Regions from separate parts of the Homo sapiens genome. Here all the other regions are linked to region 4. The links are contacts of gene promoters, found by promoter capture Hi-C in blood cells and fetal thymus (Javierre and others, 2016). All regions are on one chromosome and are shown on one strand. The core of a region is centred on a gene start or on the middle of the fragment in contact, and the rest is flanking DNA. Distances in the headings are between cores, read along the strand shown.

Evidence for each region. Contacts are between HindIII fragments. The CHiCAGO score rates a contact against its expected background, and 5 or more counts as called.
Region 1: a fragment that was not itself captured here is called in contact with the fragment with the promoter of RPL7 in region 4 in 2 of 17 cell types (total CD4 T cells and activated CD4 T cells); the score reaches 10.1 in total CD4 T cells.
Region 2: the fragment with the promoter of MTDH here is called in contact with the fragment with the promoter of RPL7 in region 4 in 4 of 17 cell types (activated CD4 T cells, naive CD4 T cells, non-activated CD4 T cells and 1 more); the score reaches 8.8 in activated CD4 T cells.
Region 3: a fragment that was not itself captured here is called in contact with the fragment with the promoter of RPL7 in region 4 in 1 of 17 cell types (non-activated CD4 T cells); the score reaches 5.7 in non-activated CD4 T cells.

What each region holds. Positions count from the first base shown.
Region 1 is chr8:52,713,318-52,716,739 of GRCh38, reverse strand. It overlaps RB1CC1 (RB1 inducible coiled-coil 1), which reads left to right and starts at 2,305. Exons shown (of 24, transcript NM_014781.5): 1 at 2,305-2,665. RefSeq lists enhancers at 1,741-1,790, 1,811-2,120 and silencers at 2,181-2,350, 2,381-2,850. The HindIII fragment of the contact is 3,580 bases long and covers 76-3,422 here.
Region 2 is chr8:97,642,491-97,645,849 of GRCh38, reverse strand. MTDH (metadherin) reads right to left here and starts at 1,666. Exons shown (of 12, transcript NM_178812.4): 1 at 963-1,666. The coding sequence starts at 1,343. RefSeq lists silencers at 537-705, 989-1,058, 1,329-1,788, 1,969-2,078 and enhancers at 1-835, 836-1,816. The HindIII fragment of the contact is 3,502 bases long and covers 1-2,451 here.
Region 3 is chr8:17,912,736-17,916,087 of GRCh38, reverse strand. LOC124901892 (endogenous retrovirus group K member 25 Env polyprotein-like) reads left to right here and starts at 101. Exons shown (of 1, transcript XM_047422511.1): 1 at 101-3,352. RefSeq lists an enhancer at 3,016-3,352. The HindIII fragment of the contact is 2,687 bases long and covers 366-3,052 here.
Region 4 is chr8:73,292,020-73,295,277 of GRCh38, reverse strand. RPL7 (ribosomal protein L7) reads left to right here and starts at 1,645. Exons shown (of 7, transcript NM_000971.4): 1 at 1,645-1,679; 2 at 2,481-2,589; 3 at 2,873-3,039. The coding sequence starts at 1,666. RDH10 (retinol dehydrogenase 10) reads right to left here and starts at 676. Exons shown (of 6, transcript NM_172037.5): 1 at 1-676. RefSeq lists a silencer at 1-943 and enhancers at 1,034-1,523, 977-1,684, 1,644-2,003, 2,014-2,063, 1,685-2,393. The HindIII fragment of the contact is 6,100 bases long and covers 1-2,895 here.

The DNA.
Region 1 (3,422 bases), core at 616-3,115, about 21 Mb after region 4:
CTGTTTGCAAGTTAAGTAAGAAATGCACAGTAGGCCAAAAATGAGATTGGACTGAGGACTTCCTATCAGAAAGCTTGGTTGAGAAGTGATGCTACAGAATTTTGTTTGTTCTTTTTTTTGTTTTATTAAGGAAGGGAGAATAGAGGGTGTCCAATAGGCAACAAAAGTAACTTTTCAAGACCTACTACCATGGATACATGTATTAGTAACTTATAAACAGTATTTCCTCTAGATATTTGCATATATATAATAGAATTAATGTTAGTACATTTTCACTTATCCCTAGGAAAGAATTACTGATGTTTGTTAAGAGTCTGTTAAGAATATACAAACTCTTAACATTTACACTGGAGGTGTATAAGGTATGAACCAGTCGTTTCTGGTAATTTATTGCAACCTGTGATTAAGAGAGAAGGTTAGGACTGAATTAATTCATTTTCCAAAGAAAAAAGTCAGACAACATTTATAATTTACCAGATTATCACTGGCATAGTTCAGAAATTTTTTTTTATTTTTCAGACAGGGCAACAATCTGTTGTCCAGGCTAGGAGTGCAGTGGTGCCATGATGGTTCACTGCAGCCTCGACCTCCTGGGCTCAACTGATTCTCCCACCTCAGCCTTCTGAGTAACTGGGACCACAGGTGTGCATCACCACGCCCAGCTAATTTTTGTATTTTTTGTAGAGAAGGGGTTTCACTACGTTGCCCAGGCTGGTCTCCAACTCCTGGGCTCAAGCAATCCTCCTGCCTCGGCCTCCCATAAGTGCTGGGATTCCAGGTGTGAGCCACTGCACCGAGCTCCAGCAAGATTTTTACATTCTAAATTGGGTTATATTTGTAATAATGAATGTCACTAATAAGAGGAAGTGCAAGTACCAATACGTTCTTTACAGGCCTCATACTGCAGTTTTTCTTTTCTTTCTTTTTCTTTTCATTCTTGGTCATACTGCCATTTTTCTTAGCCAATTTTCTGGCCAAACTCCTCCTCACCACTTATTTTCTGTGTGCTGATGACTATGCTTTACTACTAAATTTGGCTCTTTTGTCTTGCCAGTTCACACCTTCCCTTAAGGCATAATAACCATTTACTACTTAATTTTCGCTTTTCTCCTCTATCTTGCTGGGGTGGTGTAATAAAATTCCAGCTTAACCAATAAGTAAAATGGCTTGCCAGTGATGATAAAGACCACATTTGTTTGGGATATGTAGCAGCACAAATTTAAAAGTAAATAAATAAAACAAGCCCATCTCAATCCTAACTTACAGATACTGGTCAGTGTGACTGAAAACTGAAATTGTTCATGCTAACCAACGTTTTTCAGTTTCCACCTAACATTTTGTTCAGTTTGGTGCCCTCTTGTGCCTCCTATTTTTACAAACACAACTCAGAATTCCTGATGACTTTAGAGAAGGCACCTCCAAGTTTTCACTCATACCAGATATTCCTGGATATAACAGGAATTTGAGAACTATTATGTAATTATTCTACGTGTAACATCTGCTCATCAGATTTTAATATTCAAGCCTCGTGGCTTCAAGTCATTGCCTGTGACTGATCATCTTCACAAATGCAAGAGTCCCCTGAAACTGTCTCCCAACCATTAGGGTGCTCATGCTAACCCCTAACCCACTAGACCCACTACAAGATTCAGTATTTGTAAAGCTGAAAACGTGGTTGTGGCGTTTACATTTTCATTCCGATTGGCCTAGGCTTCCCTCTCTTCTCTCTTGCATGTTTTCTTGCCTTACCTGGTCTGAGAAATGGTGCCGCCCCACCCTTGCAGAGTTAACAGGGGGACGCTTGCCAGCTGCGTGCAGTCCCGGCGGTCCGGATATGCGGGGAGGTGGCGGCAGGAACGCCTGGGCCAGGCGCTGGTACGTTATCCTGTTACAGACCTTGGCCTAGTCCGCAGGTTGCCCCTGGAGAGGCGACGGGGACACCAGACCCTCGATTGGCTCCGCTCCTCCGCGACAGGCTGAGGGGAACAAGCTCTCTTTCGCCTGGGGACGATCCAGTGTTTGGTGGGTCGACCTTAGTCAGGGCCTAGCTGTCGCAAAGAAGGTCAAATTCACCTTGGGAAAGTACGCACCGGGACGGCAGCTAGCACCATAACAGGCGGCCCCAGCGGAGTCTCCCAGGGTCAGGCCAGGACAGCCAACCTGCCGGCCGGAGAGCCGGAGGCGGGGCCGCCCCCTTCCCGGCAGGCTGCCGACTTCCGGACCTGCGTAGACGCCTCTCTGCGCCTCCAGGCGCGCCCCTCCCCCGGCAGGCCGTTTCCCGGCATGCGCCGCGGAGGAAGAGACGGAGTCGACAATAACAAACCAAGCCGCGGCGGTGTCCGCGGCCCTGCCGAGCCCTCGGCGTTGCCTCAGAATCCCCCAGTCGCCTGGGCCCCTCGGCTCTGACAGGCCGCGGCCTTCTGTCCCCCGGCCCCAGACCCAGAGCCGAGGGGCCTGCTCGCGTCCTTGTCCGCCCGGACCCCTCCCTGCCTCCTAGAGTTCGGGGCCGCGGCGGGCGGGCGCCCGGGACGCCGGCGGTTGTGTCGGCTTAGCGGTGCCGAATGGGCGGTTGGTAACCGCTGCCGAGGACTAGGCGGCGGCGGAAGATGGTGCCGGGGGTCGCTGGCTCTGCTGCTGCCGCCGGCGAAGGAGGAGGCGTTGCCGGGTAAGTGTCGCCGCCGCCCGCGTCCCCTTCCCCCATCTGGCACAGCGGTCGCGCGGCGGGCCCTGGCACGGTGGGCCGGGGTCGCATGGTCCAGGGTTCCGGTCGGCCTGAGCCCGGCCCACGCGCAGGTGTGTGCACGGGAGGGCCCCGGCGCCTCCCGCCCCGGCAGGTGTTGCCCACTGGCCGCTTTCCCGGCGCGACAGCCCCTGTGGAGACAAAAGCGGTTCGAGTCGATGCTCCACTAGGCTGCCGGAGGTGTGGGTCGGACTCGTGCTGCGGGGCTGCCTGCGGCTTCCTCGGCCGGAGCCTTGGGATCCCTCCCTCTGCGCTGCCGCTTAGTACCCGGCCTAGTTGCCGGAGTGGCCGAGGGCGAGGGACGTCCGAACCTCCCAAGACGCATCTTGACTTGTGCTCATCGCTGCCAGGGATCAGCCCTTAATTCTGTGTTGGACTCGAGAAACGGGAGAGTGGAGTTTGGCCGAGGCCGAACGAAGCTCACCGAATGGGAGGAACGGAGAGATGATGTCTTTGTCCCGACCCCAGAGTGCGAGGATCGGTATAAAGTTACTCCTAGGAATGACTCAGCCTGCGCCCGCCCCACGGATAGATTTGGGATGGGTGTGCACGCGGATTTCACAGCTTCCTTGGTAGAAACAAAAATACATTAACCAACAGTAGAAATAGCAGCTTCTGAATGGAATATCTCTATAGTTTCTTCCACCGCCTGGTGGATGTGCTGTGTTTACTGTTTATGGTT
Region 2 (3,359 bases), core at 417-2,916, about 24 Mb before region 4:
AACTCTGCATACCCTCCATAGTCTCAATTTGCTCAAATGTAAAATATTTTTAAAAATACATAAAACTATGAAAGATATAATGGGAGAACCATGGGAATGGCAATAAAGAATGTAAACGTAAAACATGAAGGCCTAAGACAGACGTGATGCCCTCTGCAACTTCCACACGTGGCCCAGTAAATCGGTGCCTGAATTCCTCTCTCGGCTTTCACCATTCTGCCCTGTCATCTCCCTTTACTCTATTTCACAAATCTACCACGCCACAGAGTGTGCAACAGACTCGTTCGTTGAACTCGCCTTAGCTCTTTCTCACAGGACCATACACCTCAAAGCGTATTAGGTAACCGACCCCCTCTTGCCTTGCTCCCGTTCCGGCCTCTGTTGGCCACATTTGCCAGAACAAGAATGGGCAACCATTTCCCTTTAACAGTCCCAACTAAAATGGAAGCGCGTCTAGACCTGGACACCTTTAATCCTGTGTAAGCCCCAGAATTTCTAGGTCACCGCACTTCTTCCACTGCCTACTGTCTCAATGTGACTTGAGATAGACATCTGTCTTCCGAGCGCAGTCTTTATACAACTTCCTAACACCACCTTAAGGTCCCATTACGCTCCACATGCAGCCTACTCTGCAGGCCTCAAGGAAGGATGCTGTGCTTATTCTAGCGGTGACGGTTCCCAAAGATGGCTTGACCTCTGGGCGCCTATCTGAACGGACCCCCAGACCTCCTAACTTCCTTCCTCGAAACTGGGCTTCCCCACTCGTCCTATACTTCCTGAGTTCCCCCCATTCCCCAAATAACATGACCACCTATCACCTCCTCCTCCACTTGGGAGTGCTGCCTCTCGGCTTTCGACTAAGCACTCTTTTCCTTCCCGGCTGGGGCGCGGCCTCCCCCAAGCTCGAGGGTCTCCACGCCCGCCCTTCGCCCGTTCTCTACTGCCGCTCATCCCATACTCACTTTGGGCTTCTCGGACAGTTTCTTCCGGTTCTTCTTCTTCTGTTCCTCGCTCCGGAGATTCTTCAGCAAGGCCAGGTCGTCGGGGGCCGCGGCCGGCACGGCCGCCGCCTCCTCCCGCTTGCGGGGCGGGCTCCTCCGCTTTTTGCGGGCGCCGGCGCAAGCCGCGGCCCAGCCGTAGCCCAGCAGAAACAGCAGCAGCAGCCCGAGCGCGCCAGTGCCCACCAGGATCACCCAGCCGGGGTACCGTTTCGGCTCCAGCCCCAGGTCGAGGCCCAGCTCGGTGCGCAGAAAGCCTAGGCCGACCGAGAGCATTTCCCGCAGCCGGGCCGAGCCCTCCTCGGCCTGCTGGGCCAGCTCGTCCTGCCAGCTCCGTGCAGCCATCTTCCCTCCCGTCAGAGGGACTCGCAGGATGACGCCGGGGCGCGGAGACGCAGTGGAATAGTCGAGGGAAGCGAGGAAGGGCCGGGCCGGGTAACCTCAGGCCGAGCGCATCGCGGCCGTCCCTCGCGCCGGAGCCGGGGATCGGCCGCTGCCACCGCGGGGAGGGCGGAGGGGTCTCCCAGGTTCCCCGCTGTCAGCCTCACTCCGCCGCCGCCAGGAGACCCGGGAGGCGGGAGGGAGTGTCTCCAGTGGCGGCCGCTAAGCGGCGTCTCGGCGCCAGCGCCAGGCCCCGCTGTCCTCCCTCGGCGGAACAATGGCGGCTTGGGCCGCGATCCACGCCGCGCGCGGGGACGACCGTGGGTCACGTGGGCGCCAGTGGGCGGGGCGTGGGCGTCACGTGGGGGCGGGCGGGGTCGGGTGGGGCAAAGGCGTGTCAGGGAAGGTTGGCGGTGGTCGGTTCGGGCCTGGTTAAGACGCGGCGTTGGGGACCCGTTACTGTAGACCAGAAGCTGGGAGGGGTTAATTGGTGGACGCCTTCGCGGGGTGGCTGGTGGCGCAGAGTTAGGAGACGTGGCGCAACGAATGAGTACAGAGGAGGGGCTCCGTGCAAGGCGGGGGCGGGCGGGGGGCGGGTAGGGCTGCAGCGCTAGGAACCGGGTCACCGGGTCTAGGTCAAAGTCGCCCTGGCAGGTATAGGGCTCTTCATGCCTTTTTCTGGAGTGTTATTGAGGTGGAATCGCTTTTTCTCCCTGGTGGCGCCAGTTGGATCCTTCCAGAATGAGCTCAACGGAGTCTGACGCCGAACACTGTTCTTCCGGGACCTAGGTTTAGTTCACAAATTGGGTATTTCTCTCCAGGGTGTTTCTCTCCAGGGCAACTAATACACTGCGTGCCTACCAGTTGCCAGCCTGGCGAGGGCACGTTTGCGTCGTTTGGCTCATTCACTCTTGCTCTCTGTTGTTAGTCCCCAGAATTCAAAAGTTGGAAAGCCCGTGGGCGGCACTATTCTTTTCCTACTAATTTGTAGCTTTAATAACACATAAGGGGAAGCACATTAGATTGTATTTACTTATGGAGGGAGCTTTCTCGTTACGTTTTATTTTAAGCTTTTCTACAACACTGCAAAAGGGGTTTGCAAAAATTCCATTTTTATATGCTATGTTGACCATCTCTGGGATGCAGCTATAGAAGGAAACGAACTGCCTTTTCAAATTTTTTTTTTTTGAGACAAGAGTCTCGCTCTGTCGCCCGGGCTGGAGTGCAGTGGCACTATCTCCGCTCACTGCAAGGTCCGCCTCCTGGGTTCAAGCCATTCTCCTGCCTCAGCCTCCCGAGCAGCTGGGACTATAGGCACCCACCACCACGCCCGGCTAATTTTTTGTATTTTTAGTAGAGACGGGGTTTCACCGTGTTAGCCAGGATGGTCTTGATCTCCTGACCTCGTGATCCGCCCACCTCAGCCTCCCAAAGTGCTGGGATTACAGGCGTGAGCCACCACGCCAGGCCTTCAGGTTTTAATTATAAGGGAAATGCTTGAAGGCTGCCTTAGGGTTTTAAGATTATATTTTGCTATAAGGAAACTCTGTATTTTATCGGTAAATGATCATTAGCGTGTAAGCAACTGTCTTAAGTGAACTAAATACAGGCTTTCTCAAGGAATACAGCAGGGGTAATATTAATAACCACCAAATACCAAAAATGTATTTTGACCTATTTTGCAACAGTGTCGTAATGCATATTGTGATTCATGTGTGGAAGGGAGTTTTGTAAATAATAAATAATAAAAGCATACTACACTTGCCAAGACTTATGATTAAAGACTAAATTAAATTAGGAGGCCAAAAACTTAGCAAATGTTATTGGGATCTGCTTTAACTCAAAGTTTCCAAATTCCATTTATATTTGTGAAATAAGATTTCTGCACGTGTTTTGGTTCTAGAGATGTGAAGGGTCATGATTTTCCTAAGAAGTTCCACTGACTATTCTGACCATTCTAGATAAACATCTGTGAATTTT
Region 3 (3,352 bases), core at 460-2,959, about 55 Mb after region 4:
CCCATGGTCACTCTATGATCACCCAACCATCTGCCCACCCTCAGCCCATAGGATCAAAGGAATTGTACTCAATAAACATCAGTGGAATCCAGAGCTCAAGGCCTTCGCAGTTTCCGTGTTGTGATGGAACCCTGGACCCACTTTTGTTAACTCTTGAACTTTGTGTCTTTATTTCTTTTCTCATTCCTTCATTTCCACCGGGAAGGGGAGAACACGCATGTGGTGTAGCGGGCTGGTTCCCCTACATCTTTGGCACCCAGTGTGGGCTCCTTGTACCCAGGTGGAGTTACACCTGAGCATGGTCATTGCGGAGACCAGTCTGTCGAGGGACTCCCAAGAACGTGTGGTCGGCCTTGCGGTAAGCTTGTGTGCTCGGAGTATTCCAGGGACACCATGGGACAATCGGGAAGTAAGCACTCTGCTTACTTACACTTTATCAAACTCCTCTTAAAGAGGGGGGTAATAAAGGCTAGCACAGAAAACTTGATTACTCTGTTTCAAACAGTAGAGCAGTATTGCCCTTGGTTTCCTGAATAAGGTACCATGGATTTAAAAGATTGGGAGCAGGTTGGAATTGCCTTAAAACAAGTTCATAAGGAAGGAAAACTTATTCTTCTAACGGTCTGGTCAGACTGGGCTATGGTTAAAGCAGCCTTGGAACCGTTTCAAATGGAAAACGAGGTTTATCCTCCGGCAGAAAGAATTCCAGCGGAGGAAGGCGGTGCTGCCGCCAATATAAATATAAAGGAAGTTGAAGGAGGAGAGGATAGTGAAGAAGATTTTGAGGAAAGTACAGACAAACCTGGAGATGACTTAATTTCTTTTGAGGAGCATGTGGGACCTCCAGCTGCTCCTAAAATAGAGAAGCTATTTATGCCAATATGTTTAAAACAAAGAAGGGCCTTGAGGAATCTTTGGCTCCTCATTGGGATCATCCGGAGTGGCCACCTCCAATAAGGCAACGTAACCTGGAGCCTTGGAGGTTTGAATCTCCAATTTGCCCTGTTTCACGAATGGATAAATTAGGGGCTCAGGAATCAAGAACACGTTTTGCAGCACCAGTACAGCATAGGGCTGCACTGCCACCTAATGTCAATGAATCACCATTTCAAATGGTTATTCGGCAGGCTAGGTTAGCTGGAGATCCCGATGCCTGGCAGTTTCCAGTAGTTTTGGAACTCCCACAGCAGCAGGGTGGTGCCCATCAGGCGGTATGGGAACCATTTTCTTTTAAGCTGCTTAAAGATCTCAAAGCAGCTGTTGGTCAGTAAGGTCCCAATTCGCCTTCTGTCCAGTCACTATTACACTCAGTAACTCAGGACAAGCGATTGGCCCCGGACGATTGGGAGATTTTAGCAAAAGCTACTCTTTCGCCCTCCCAATTTCTTCAATTTAAAAGTTGGTGGACCGATGAGGCTCAAAATCAAGATCAAAAAAACCGTGCTGCTAATCCTGTTGTTGCCATTTCACTTGAACAACTGTTGGGAGTTGGGGGCCAATGAGGAACTGTACAACAATTAGTGCTTCAGGATGATGCCGTTGAGCAAATTCGCAATTGTTGCTTGAGGGCATGGGAAAAAATTCAGGACCCGGGAACTACTTATCCCTCTTTTAATTCTGTCAGACAAGGCTCAAAAGAACCGTATCCTGATTTTATTGCTCCTCTTCAAGATGCAGCTCAGAAGGCTCTCACTGATGAAAGTGCCAGGAAGGTGATTATAGAATTCTTGGCTTATGAAAATGCCAACCCTGACTGTCAATCACCTATTCGCTCTGTGAAAGGAAAGGTTCTGGTGGGAGTTGATGTAATCAATGAGTATATCAGGGCATGTGATAGATTGGTGGAATCATGCATAAGGCTATGATAATGGCTCAAAACATGGCAGGATCAAAGGTGGGAGATCCAGTGAAAAACTTTTCAGGCAATTGTTATAACTGTGGGCAATTTGGAAATACAAAAAAGGAATATAAGAACAAATCAAACAAACAATCCAGATCTAATCAAACAAAGGAGCCACCTGGCTTATGTCCCAGGTGCCAGAAGGGTAAATGTTGGGCTAAACGGTGTCACTCCAAATTTGATGAAAATGGCCAACCCTTGCAGGCGCAATTGGGAAATGGGAAGAGGGGCCAGCCTCAGGCCCCACTCCAAACTGGGGCATTCCCTCTCCAGCAGTTTGTCCGTCAGTGGGCACCAGTGCCCTTAATCCCTCAAGTGACCACCACAGTAACATAATTGGCGCCAGTTACAACAGGGGGCGCTGCTTTAGATTTATGTTGCACCAGAGCTGTGTCTCTGCTTCCAGGGGAACCACCTCAAAAGGTGCCCTCTGGAGTATTTGGCCCTTTACCTGAGGTAACAGTTGGACTTGTTTTAGGGAGATTTAGTCTAAATTTAAAAGGAGTTCAAATTTATACTGGAGTGATAGATTCCGATTTTGTGGGAGAAATTCAATTGGTTATTAGTTCTAGTATTCCTTGGAGTGCAAGCCAGGCAGAGAGAATTGCTCAATTGTTGTTATTACCTTATTACCTAATTGTTGTTATTACCTAAGTAGGAGAAAGTACAGTAAAAAGAGAAGGTGGTTTCGGCAGCACTGATAGCAAAGGAAAAGCAACTTATTGGGTAAGTCAAGTTTCTGAAAATAGACCTGTGTGCACAATAACGATTCAGGGAAAACTCTTTGAAGGACTTGTCGATACAGGCGCTAATATTTCTGTTACAGCCCTGGATCAGTGGCCAAAAACATGGCCCAAACAGAGAGCTTCTATGGGTTTAATTGGAATAGGCATGGCATCTGAAGTTTATCAGAGTGTTACAATTTTACACTGTTTAGTACCAGATGGACAGGAAGGCACCATCCAACCTATAATTACTGCCATTCCCATTAATTTGTGGGGAAAAGATTTGTTACAACAGTGGGGTACGGAAATCACCATTCCCTCTATGATTTACAGTTCAGAGAGTCAAAGCATGATGACTAAGTTGGGGTATACTCCTGGAAAAACATTAGGAAAGAATGAGGATGGAATAACTCAGCCAATTGAAGCTTCAGTTAAACTTGACCGAAAAGGAATTGGGTACTCTTTTTAGGGGCGGCCACTGTTGAGCCTCCAAAGCCCATCCCATTGAAATGGAAAACTCAAAAACCTGTGTGGGTTGATCAGTAGCCGCCTCCTCAGCAAAAACTGGAGGCATTACATTGACTAGCAAAAGAGCAATTAGACAAAGGACATATTGAACCTTCTTTCTCACCGTGGAATTCCCCGGTTTTTGTAATTCAGAAAAAATCCGGTAGATGGCGCATGTTGACCAACCTACGAGCGGTTAATGCAGTCATTCAACCGATGT
Region 4 (3,258 bases), core at 396-2,895:
GGCCCCGCACGAGCCCAGTGCCTGCGTCCGCGCCCACCCCGAGCCCGGCAATCGGGCTCCCGGCTCCGGGGCGCTTGTCACAGAGGCCGGGACGAGAAGGCTGCGCCCCGCGCCCGCCCCCGAGGTGCCCGCCGGGTTGGAGTGCGCGGCGCCGCTCCCTGCCTGCGCGGGGCCACTCCCGCCCGGGCTCGGCGCTGTGGCCCCGGACTGTGCCCGCCGCGGCAGTCACCCGGCTCGGCGCCTCCTGCCGGCAGCCGCCCGCCCGTCCCGCAGCGCCCGGCCGGCCGGCTCCGCTGCAGTGGCGGTGACAGCCGCGAGTTAGACTACTCGAACTGCCCTCATGGCCAAGCTGCTGCCGCCCGAGCGTCCCCGGAACCGGCGCGCCGGCTCCCTCTCACCCCGGGGGAGGGGTGCGCAGCGGAGGCGGCACGGGCCAGCGGGCTGCCGCGGGAGTTGTCAACTCGACCCAAGTTGCGAGAGGGTGGGAGAGTGGGGTGCGGGGCGGCGGAGCGCCGGGAAGGGGAGACTCGCTCGGCGCAGGCAAGCGCTGCCCAACGCCTTGCAGCTGCCCCCGAGGGCTCGCGTTCCCCGGCCCTGCACTCTCCGCGGGTGTCACTCGGGCACTGGGCTCCGCAGCGCAGCCCGCTTGCAAGTCAGAGCGCTCCGGGCCGGCTCTGAGCGGGCTCCACGCTCCGCGCTATATAACCCCGCGACCGGGAAGAGCCCGCGCCAGCCTCGGCATCGGCCCTCCCTCCGCCCGGCCTCCCCGCCCCCGGGCGCACCCCGCCCCCGGCCCAGCCCCCAGCCCGCCAGCCGTCCGCGGAGCCGAGCCGGGTAGCCCCTCTCACACGGCCGTGGCCGCAACCTCAGCCCTCCTCGCACCTCCCTTCGCAGCTCACGCCCCCTCCCGTGGGGTGTCCTGGCCTCCGCCTGCCGAGCTCGGCAGTCAGCAGAGCCCCGGCCATCCTCCTCCGGCCGTCCGGTCCCCACTGGTCCCTGGCTAGCCACTTTTCGTAAGCTAGAGCACTCCAGACCGCCCCGCCTGCGATCAGGCGCTGCGGAAGACAGCCCTGTGGGCTGGAGCGACGACAAGGACCTCGCGGAGCGGCGAAAGGGGTGTAGTCTGCGACTACCGCGGCAGGGAGCCGGGAGGGCGGCCAAAAGTGACTTCGAATTGCAGCTAGCCGTTTGGAACGTGGCCCAAGAGGCTCTCATTTTCCTGGCTGGAACCGTCGCCGCGGTGCTTGCCTGCGGTCCTGGTCAGCCGTTGCCCTCCCGCCGGGCGGGCGAAGACTGGTGCATGCTGGGATTTGTAGTTCGTCCCCATGAGGCTCGTCCTGGGAACATTATGGGGAGGAACGGAGCCTAATCCTGTCAGCGCAGCCTGGGGATTAGGACCCGGAGTTGCCAAGGTGTCAGCACTCTTTGCTCTTGAATTGATTAAAAAGTCTAATCAAATGCATATATTTTCTTCAAACAAGTTTTACCCGAAAGTTTGTTGAAAGAGGCTAAATCAGGGAGTTCTTTGCGTCTGCAAGGCGGCTTTTTAGTTCTGGATTCTTTTCCGGCTTATTCTAAGACACCTATGAGTCGTGGGGCTTCTCTCGCGAAGTCTTTAAGTGGACAGTACGCATGCGCCAACTTCCTCTTTTTCCGGCTGGAACCATGGAGGGTGTAGAGTGAGTTGCTTCTGGTCCTCTTGAGAATCCTTCTCCATCTCCAGAGCCAGATACTTTTTGTGTCACTTTTTCTCTCTCTGGCCGTAGCTTGCACCTTTGCCCACCTCCCTGCTTGATTGTGAACGCTGTGTGACACCAGTGGGGACCTGAGGCTAGGGTTGGGATGCGGGCGGTCTTAGGACGGAGGTTTTGGAGATCCCGGGAACGAGATGTCGGGTTGGAATGTGTGTGGAACCCGTCGGTTGGCTGACGGCCCAGTCCTCGGTAGAGGGTCTTTCGGGGGAGGCGCAGAACCTCTGAATTGTGTTCGTCCTTGGCTGGTGCTTGGTACAGGCCTCCCTGCCGCCAGGCCTTTGCTTTCAACATGTGGATCCTGATTGAACCAGAGTGGTGGTGGCTTGTTTTTTTTTTATTTTTATTTTTTAATTTTTGCGCTTAAAGTCTCGGGGTCAGTGCCTTGCAGTAGTCTTTCAGCTAGTACATTTTGTTATTCGGGTGTTGGTGTGTTTTTTTTGTTTTTTTTTTTAATTAGTCGTCGGAGGCCGGGCCTCTTGGTTGAAATAGGGAAAAACGTATTGCTATTGTCATATTTGTGATTGCGTTTTAGGCAACATGGTGTTAAAGGTTATTGACATGGAGCTAAAATATGCATCGTACACTGTAGCATGCCAGAGCAAGTAAAGTTACTAGTGACTAAAGTCAGTGACAGCATTTCTGGTAAACAACACTGCTCAGTACGGGAGTAATACAGCGCTGTGAGCTTTTTGAGCTATTGATAACATTTTTGTTTATTAACGTTAGAGAGAAGAAGAAGGAGGTTCCTGCTGTGCCAGAAACCCTTAAGAAAAAGCGAAGGAATTTCGCAGAGCTGAAGATCAAGCGCCTGAGAAAGAAGTTTGCCCAAAAGATGGTAAGTAAACTTTTTGAGGCACTAGCACATAAGGAGGCGCCTTATTGGGATTGAGGATGAGGTGAATGTTCTTGGCAAGATTTACTTCCTAACTGTACTGAGTAATTGCTTAGCTACCTAATGTTACAATCTGAAGGTAGTGGGGTTTTTTGGTGGGGGATGTAATTGCATACTGTGGCAAGAAAAGATTTAAAGGAAACATGTTGTAGTTTTCTTTTTAATGATTGGCATTGCTAATTGTGATTGAGCTAAAAATTATGAATAACTGATTATTGGTTTTCAGCTTCGAAAGGCAAGGAGGAAGCTTATCTATGAAAAAGCAAAGCACTATCACAAGGAATATAGGCAGATGTACAGAACTGAAATTCGAATGGCGAGGATGGCAAGAAAAGCTGGCAACTTCTATGTACCTGCAGAACCCAAATTGGCGTTTGTCATCAGAATCAGAGGGTAAGTTCAGTTTTACTGCATTCGGGTTTGAATGGGAAAAAAAAAAAAAACCTTCACATTACTTCTGGGAGCCCTGATTCTGAAACACCGGAGTAACAATATTTTAGGGGAAGCTAGAACAAGGAGGGTGCTGATCACTAATGGTTTAGTTGCAAGCCATGTTCCCCAAGCTCCTATCCCTTCTCTTAATAGAATACAGAAATTCAGTGTGTAACATGA